Regions from separate parts of the Homo sapiens genome. Here regions 1 and 2 are each linked to region 3. Evidence: promoter capture Hi-C in 16 types of primary human blood cells and fetal thymus (Javierre and others, 2016). All regions are on one chromosome and are shown on one strand. Each heading gives the region's core, a stretch centred on a gene start or on the middle of the fragment in contact. The rest is flanking DNA. Distances are from core to core; before and after follow the strand shown.

Region 1 (2,700 bases), core at 173-2,672, 640 kb after region 3:
TTCCCATCTCAGCCTCCCGAGTAGTTGGGACCACAGATATGAGCCACTGCACCTGGCTCCTGGATAAAAAACTTTTTCCAGATCTATGATTTGAAAATATTCTCTCCTAGTCTGTGGCATGACTTTTCATTTTCTTAATGGTATCTTTTACCAGGCAAAAGATTTGAGTTCTGATTAAGTCCAAATTTGCCAATTTTTTCTTTTATGTATCATGCTTTTGGCACTGTGAGATACACGTGGAGGTTCCTTTTCTTGCAATATGGACATCCAATTGTTCCAGCACTCTTCATTGAAAAGACTACCCTTTCTCCACTGAATTGCCTTTGTACCTTTAAAAAAAGAATTTATTTGGCTTTTCTTGTGCGGGTCTATTTTTGGGCTCTCTCTTTTGTTCCACTGATCTATTTGTCTGCCCTTTTGCTAATACCACACTGGAGCTTTATGGTAAGTCTTGAAATTAGGCAGTGTGAGCCTGCCAACTTTATTCTTTTTCATATGACTATTATAATTTTTTGTACCTCAATATAAAATTTATAATCAGTTTCTAGATCTCTACAAAAAGAGCTTGCTGGGATTTTGACTGGGATTACATTTAATCTGTAGATCAAATTGCAGAGAATTGGTATCTTCATAATCACAAGCCTTCCATCTCTTCATTTATTTAAGCTTCTTTATCAGTGTTTTGTAGTTTTTGACCTTTTGATTCCACACATATTAGATTTATACCTAAGTATTATATTATATTCCATATAATACATTTTCACATAACTTCAATTTCATACATGTTAAATGTATTATATTTTTAAAATTTCAAATTAAAAACATTCTAAATGTCCTAATGCTAAATGTTTATTACTACTGTAGAGAAATACAGCTGACTTCTGGATATTGACCCGTATTGTATCCTGAGACTTTGCTGGACTCACTTATTCATCCTAAGAGCTTTTGTGTAGATTCTTTGCAGTTTTCTATGTGGACAGTCATGTCATCTAAGAACAGATATAGTTTTGTTTCTTCCTTTCCCATCTGTATGCCTTTTATTTTTCTTGCCTTATTGTACTAGCCATAGTATTTGGTACAAAGTTGACAGTTGGAGGTAAGAGACAACATCCTTGTTCCCAGTCTTAGGAGGAAAACAATCCTTAACCATCAAGTATAATCCTGGCTATATGTGTTTTATGTCAGATTCAGGAGGTTTCCCTCAATTCCTAGTTTGTTGAGAGTTTTAATGATGAATGGATTTTAAATTTTGTTAAGTGCTTTTTCTGCATATTCTTTAGTCTGTTCATACGGTGAAGGCTAATGATTGATTTTATAATGGTGAACCAGATTTGCCTTCCTGGGATGAACCCCACTTGGTCAGAAGGTATTATACTTTGTATTTAATCATGGGATTAGATTTGCTCATATTTTGTGAAGGATTTTTATATTTATATTCATGAGGGCTACTGGTCTGTCATTTTTCTTTTCATGTTAGTCATAAAAATGCATCCTTGTTCCCAATCTTAGGAGAAAAGAAAATCTTAGGGATTTTCTATAATAATATAATAACATAGGGGTCAATTCTCCAAGACATGCAATCCTAAATGTGTACACAGCTCGTGAGGCAAAAACCAACAGAACTGAAAGGAGAAATAGACCAAACTGCAGTTATAGTTGGACACTTTAAAATTCCTCTCTCAGTAATTAGTAGAACAAGTAGAGAGAAAATCAGTAAGAATATAGAAGACATGAACAACAGTAACAACCAACTAGACTTAATTATACATTTATGGACATTTATAGAACTCCTCTCCCCCAACAATAACAACAGAATGCACTTTCTTTCCAATTGCCTATGAGAAATTCACCAAAAGAGATCACATTCTAGGGCACAAAATAGACCTCAAAACATTTAAAGGGATAGAACTAGAAACAGAACTATAATCAAATTAAACTGAAATCCCCAAAAACAGAAAGATTTCTGGAAAACTAACAAATAATTGAAAAATAAACAATACATTTCTAAATAATCAATGGGCCAAAGAGGAAATCTCAAGAGAAGGGGAAAATATTTTGAATGGAATTAAAATTAAAATATATCAAAATTTGTGGGATGTAGAAAAAGCATCACATAGAGGTAAATTTATAGCATTAAATATCTGTATTAGAAAAAAAGAAAGATCTCTAAACTGTAATCTAAGCTTCCACCATAAGGAACTAGAGAAAGAAGATAAAACCCAAAGGAAGTAGAGGGAAAGAAATTATAGATAAGAGCAGAAATCAATTAAATTGAAAACAGAAAAACAGAGAAAATCAATAAAACCAAAGTTGGTTCTTTGAAAACATCAATAAAATTGATAAACTTCTAGCCAAACTGATTAAGAAAAAAAGAGAGAAGTCACAAATTACCAATAGAGGAATGAAAAAGGAGACATTCCTACTGATCCTATGTAATAAAATAGTAATAGATACATACTACTAACAACTGTATATCCATAAATTCAACAACTTAGATAAAAGGGAATAATTCCTTGAAAGATACAAAGTACAAAAACTCACCCAAGTAGAAATAGAACACCTGAATAGTCCTATATCTATTAATGAAATTCATTCTGTAAGTTAAAACCTTCCAAAAGAGAAAACGGCAGGCCCAAATGGTTTCCCTGGCAAATTTTATCAAACATCTAAGGAAAAGGTAATAAGAATTCTACACAGTAT
Region 2 (2,700 bases), core at 191-2,690, 690 kb after region 3:
CTAATATGACAAATTAAAAGCATCTTCTAGAGATATCTACTTGTTGGTGAGCAGCCGATGACATAACATGGTACTGTTAGTGAACAGATAAGCCCCCTAAAAATAGCAATAAACCCAAGGGCTTTACCTCTGTTGAAAAGATGCTAGATTTCCAACAAGCTCCCAGGTGGTACCAATGCTTCTGGTCTAAATATCATACTTCACTCAGCAAGGTGCTGGACATCTTCCCTTTGCCTTACTGACACTCTCTCCACTCTGTTTTGTGCCCCGGGAGGCTGACTGTGCAGACTGTATCACTCAATCTTCTCAACAACCCTGTTCAGGTGGTGCTATCATTAGATCACCATTTAATAGATGAGCAAATTGAGCCGAGATAAGTAAAGCAACTTGCCTGAGGTCACACTGCAATTCGTGATGGGGCTGGGTTGAGCTCAGGCAAGTGGGCTCCAAGGTTGTGTTCCGACCTCCTAAGCTAAGCTGCCTTTGCATCTCATTGCAGCCTGCCCAACAGTGAGTGGTGTGGTGGGAAATCCTGGACTGTGAGTCAGGAGACCCAGATACAAATCCTCCCTCTACCGCTTGCATGTTGTGTAACCTTGGGCAAGTTGCTTCACTTCTTGAGCCTACATATTCTCATCTGTCAACCTTGCAAGGTTGTCATAGGGTGAAATGAGAAAGTACATGAAAAAGAAAGTCCAGCAGTTTACAGCACACAGTGTGTGCTCAGTAAACAATAGCTTTTATCTGTTACCTGGGGCTTAAGTCCATGTCTTGTAAGGCCTAATTGCATTTCTCTTTTCTCTGTATCTGAACCTCTATTGAGAAGCATTCCAATTTGGCAAGCGGATCCAAGACATTATGAATTGTAATCCTTGTCTGTTTTCTAATCTGACCGCAGATCTTAAATGTGTTGGGTGTCTGAACAGAGGCCAAAGGGCTCAGGTCCAGACCTACCTAACACAACCGCCTTCTGGCATTAACCAGCAGCCTCCATTCTGCGTGGGAAGCAGGCGGGGCCCTGAGCACTGTGGGAAGAGCCACTTCCCTCTAGTCTAATATTAGCAGCAGGTTGTCCTGAGTGGGAGCTGCTTTGCATGGTTCATCCCAAAACCCACCCCCCTCCTGCAACCTGAGGGAGATTTCCTCTGGGGATACCAGTAGCCAAAGGCTGTATGAAGACAACAGCAAGTCAGATTCTACCTCTACCTGAGCCGCCAAGTTCAAGGTCCTCTCCCCACCCTGTGTCTCAGACCCCGCATTTATCAATGAGATAATTGGACCAGATTTGTGCTTTTTAAACTTTCTGGGCTTCTGGTCTCCTTGAGAATATTTGATAAAAAGCTTTGGACCAACTTCCCATGGTAAAACAAACAACAACAAATAGAGCTTACACTCTATCCTTCTACAGGGGATACAGAATGATTCTTTTCCCTGAGCTAGACACCAGCAGAGGGAGTTCCAGATTAATTTAAGATATGATTTGAAATCTCTGCTATCACTTTTACATTCAGATATCTGTGTAGACATTACTTCATCAGAGAAGCTTTCCAAAACCCCCAAACTAGATCAAGTTCTACTATTCTAAGCCCTTTTAGCGCCCTGTAATTCTTCTTCAAAATACTTAACACAATTCTAATTATCTTTTTAATATTTGTCTACTCCATTAGACTTACTTCGTCCCTGGCAGCTCAAGGCTCCCACAGCAGTGATCTCATGAACAGGGCGGCAGCTTCATGGCCTTTTTTGGTTGTTGTTTAATAGAAACAGGATCTCGCTTTGTCATCCAGGCTGCAGCGCAGTGGCGCATAGTTCACGGTAACCTCCAATTCCTGGGCTCACACAATCCTCCTGCTTCAGCATCCTGAGTAGCTGGCACTATAGGCACGTGCCACCATGCATGGCTAATTCTGAAATTTTTCTGTAGAGATGGGAGTCTTGCTATGTTGACCAGTCTCGTTTTAAGCTCCTGGCTTCAAGTGATCCTCCTATCTCGGCCTGGGATTACAGGTGTGAACTATCATGTACAGCCTTCATGGCCTTTTGCTCCTAGCCTCAGAGGTCACAGAGCTATCACGAGGCGAGCCAGGCGAGGGTTTGCTATTCAAGGACTCCAAAGAGTATGGCAGAGGCTGGGCCTGCAGAAGTCAGTGGGGCAGCGTGGTGTCTGTTGATCTCATCGCACCTCCATCTCCTCATCTGTAAAAGGGAGCTCGTAATCCTAGTTGATGGTTGTTTTATTGGACTGTGTAAAGATCAGATGAGATAATGGCAGTAGAATTCATAACACCCTGCAGGGTGTATTCAGCCAACACTTAGCGCCTACAATATGCCAGGCGCTAAGGGTTTTACCACCACTATCTCTTTAATAATGCACCATAGCCCAAGAAGGAAGATGCAAGTCTCAGCCAGCCCACTTGAAGACCCTGCCGAAATGAGCCACCCCGGGGGCTGCGCTTGGGCTGGCGCGGGGCTGGACGGAAAGGGGGCGGCGCGCAGGTGGGGCGGGCCGGGGGCGGGGCGGCACGGCGGTTCCGGGATCCGGGTCCTGGCCTCCACCGCCGCCTTGGGGCGCGCAGATCGCTGGCTGCAGTTGGCGGGCGCATGTGGGGGCGCACGGCGCGGCGGCGCTGCCCGCGGGAACTGCGGCGCGGCCGGGAGGCGCTGTTGGTGCTCCTGGCGCTACTGGCGTTGGCCGGGCTG
Region 3 (2,700 bases), core at 147-2,646:
GGACAAATGGATGGGTGAGACTCTTGAGCCAGATCTGTGGAAAGCAGCCTTGTTAATTCTGAATAACAGTTTTTCAAGGAGCCATTATTATAATTACAGCCATTTCATACGTTAAAAAAAGGAAGGGTCTGGTGGCAGGGACAGGTCTTGAGCCCACGACTCCACTGGATTGTCCCCCATGATCCCCTTTTCACCTTGGAGTTCCAAGGTTGTCACAGTGTGGTGGTCTGGAGTCATGCAGTACCGGAGAAAGGCTCACGATGGGGCTGAATTCATCACAGAAGACTTCTTGGAGACAAGTGGTAGGATCAACAGCTGTCAGACATGAGGGCCTACCTCACCCAGGCTTCATGAAACCCAGAGAGAGAGAAGGATTTGAGAGAAGCCACAGAAAAAGTCAGCTGGGAAGCTGGAGCAGGAGCCCAGAGCCCCTGGGGCACTGTTAGGATTATGCATGGGTAAGGGTTCCACGGTGACAATGGCCCTGTTGGGGGCATCTGGCTAATGGAGTCCTGGGTTCAAGGCCTGCCCCTGCCTCCAGAGCCTTCCTCTTGTGGCCTATAAAATGGCTGTAATAATAATGGCTCACCCAGGGCTGCTATGAGCAGGAATGGGAGTGTCTGTGTGGCCGGGGAGGGGAGAGGAGGTAGGTAGTGACAGCTGAGGCTGCTCCCAGGGCAGTCAGGCCGTCCTCAGCTCAAAGTTCACAGGCCCTTTCTGTGGACTGCAGATTAAGTAAACCTGAGATGTCTGTGTGGCTTTCTGAGCTACACAGGGCTGTTTATTAAGAGGGAGAGTTTGTACCTCTGTTAACTAAAAGGCAGACTGTCTTCCAGCCCAATGGCAGTGTGGCGGATCGGCCATGGTGGACACGGTCAAGGACATCTGGGTACCAGCCTGGGCTCCCAACCTCTCACTCCTAAACCCACCTTTTCTGAAGCTCAACTGATGGCTTTGGCTCGCCTTTGCCCTTCCTTGGGTCTCAGGCTCCCGCTCTGAACTTTCGGTCGACCGCTTAGACGCCCTCTGGGGCACCTTTGGTTTCCAGGTTGTAACCCGCCACTGGCCACGGCCAGGCACGCCCCCTCCTCGGCCGTTATGCCTGGGCTGGCTCCCCCAACTCCCGCGCGGCGAACCCCGTCCCCATCGTCCCCACCTGCACGTGCACCGCTGCCTCCAGCGCCAGGCCCACAGGGTGGCCACGGTGCGCGCCCAGCACCGGGCAAAGCGCGCACACGCAGCGGCGGCAGCGGCGACAGAAGAGCTCAGCCACGCGGTCGCCATGCTCCGGGCAGCGCCAGCCGCATCCCTCGACAAGCTCCGACCTCCCAGGGGTCCGGCTCCCGGTCGCCGCGCCCGCCATTCATCTCCACCTCCTCCGGCTCCCCGGGACACAGGGCGGGGCTCCCAAGGGAAACCGAAACCTCGGCCGTGGGCGGGGCGGCTCCAGGCCGGCCGGCCGACCCCTAGGAGGATGACAGCCCGCCGGGAGCAGCGTCGGGCCTCGGAGCATCCTCCGACCAGCAGGGTGCTCCCTCTGCCCGCCCAGGCCGGGAGGTGGTCCCACCAGAAATGGGAAGCTCCTAATGAGCCAGCTAGGAGAGGGTGGGCTTCCTGCTTAATGACGCTGTTCCAGTAACGCCCAGAAAACTGCAGCCCTGATGATGGGACCAAAGTTGGCTGTGACCTTCCGGGGGTGCTCCTCTCACTTTCCCTTGATCCTCTCTTGCCCTTTTCCCCGGAAAGATAATCATTCCCACAACTGTAAGATACCTTCATCAACCTCAAATAAGGACACAGAGATTCTCCAATTGAGTTTATTTCGGACTGAGCAGAAGGATTGCAATTCGGGAATAAATGTGCCATGGCACCCAAGGGGTGGGGACGCGGAGTACTCAGGGAGGCAAAGGAAAGCAGAGGCTTTTAAAGGCAAAACGAGGAGGATTGCATATACTGTTTTTTTTGTTTGTTTGTTTGTTTTTGTTTTTTTTTTTTTTTTTTTTTTTTGGAGACGGAGTCTCGGTCTGTCGCCCAGGCTGGAGTGCAGTGGCGCCATCTCTGCTCACTGCAAGCTCCGCCTCCCGGGTTCACGCCATTCTCCTGCTTCAGCCTCCCGAGTAGCTGGAACTACAGGCGCCCGCCACCACGCCCGGCTAATTTTTTGTATTTTTAGTAGAAAAGGGGTTTCACTGTTTTAGCCAGGATGGTCTCGATCTCCTGACCCCGTGATCTGCCCGCCTCGGCCTCCCAAAGTGCTGGGATTACAGGCGTGATCCACCGCGCCCGGCCAGATCGTTTTAAAATAATAATACTTGGTTACAAGAATTAATACAGGTGGCTTCAGTCCAAAAGTTGAACAGGCAGTTGCTGGGCAGATGTCCTCATATCATGGCTTTTGTGCAAGGTTGTGGTTCTTTGTGCAAGGTTGCAGTTTGGTGGAATCTTTTGCAATAATAGTTCCTGTTACCAGGCAAATCGTTGATGAGGGCCCCCCACTTCATGGCCTCCCAGCACCATTTAGTTTGTTTGAGACAGGATCTCGCTCTGTTGCCCAGGCTGGAGTGCAATAGTGCGATCATAGCTCACTGCAGCCTCTAACTCCTGGGCTCAAGTGATCTTCCCACCTCATCTCTGGAGTAGCTGGGACTACAGGAGCACCATTTAGTTTGGTTTTGATGTAAGTGACTCTGTTTTGGTACT

Evidence for each region. The method cuts DNA at HindIII sites, captures the fragments that hold promoters and counts their contacts. A CHiCAGO score of 5 or more calls a contact.
Region 1: a contact is called between a fragment that was not itself captured here and the fragment with the promoter of TRIM14 in region 3, in 2 of 17 cell types (endothelial precursors and erythroblasts). The highest score is 6.4, in endothelial precursors.
Region 2: a fragment that was not itself captured here is called in contact with the fragment with the promoter of TRIM14 in region 3 in 2 of 17 cell types (naive CD8 T cells and megakaryocytes); the score reaches 6.7 in naive CD8 T cells.

What each region holds. Positions count from the first base shown.
Region 1 is chr9:98,761,377-98,764,076 of GRCh38, forward strand. All of the region lies in intron 11 of ANKS6 (ankyrin repeat and sterile alpha motif domain containing 6), which reads right to left. Among named protein-coding and RNA genes, the nearest start is that of ANKS6, 34 kb to the right of the region's middle. The HindIII fragment of the contact is 1,517 bases long and covers 665-2,181 here.
Region 2 is chr9:98,805,098-98,807,797 of GRCh38, forward strand. It overlaps GALNT12 (polypeptide N-acetylgalactosaminyltransferase 12), which reads left to right and starts at 2,573. Exons shown (of 10, transcript NM_024642.5): 1 at 2,573-2,700. The coding sequence starts at 2,602. It overlaps LOC124902229 (a long non-coding RNA gene), which reads right to left and starts at 2,483. Exons shown (of 2, transcript XR_007061689.1): 1 at 1,674-2,483. RefSeq lists silencers at 2,455-2,544, 2,645-2,700. The HindIII fragment of the contact is 202 bases long and covers 1,340-1,541 here.
Region 3 is chr9:98,117,826-98,120,525 of GRCh38, forward strand. TRIM14 (tripartite motif containing 14) reads right to left here and starts at 1,397. Exons shown (of 6, transcript NM_014788.4): 1 at 1,157-1,397. The coding sequence starts at 1,363. RefSeq lists an enhancer at 871-920 and a silencer at 1,231-1,330. The HindIII fragment of the contact is 4,863 bases long and covers 1-2,700 here.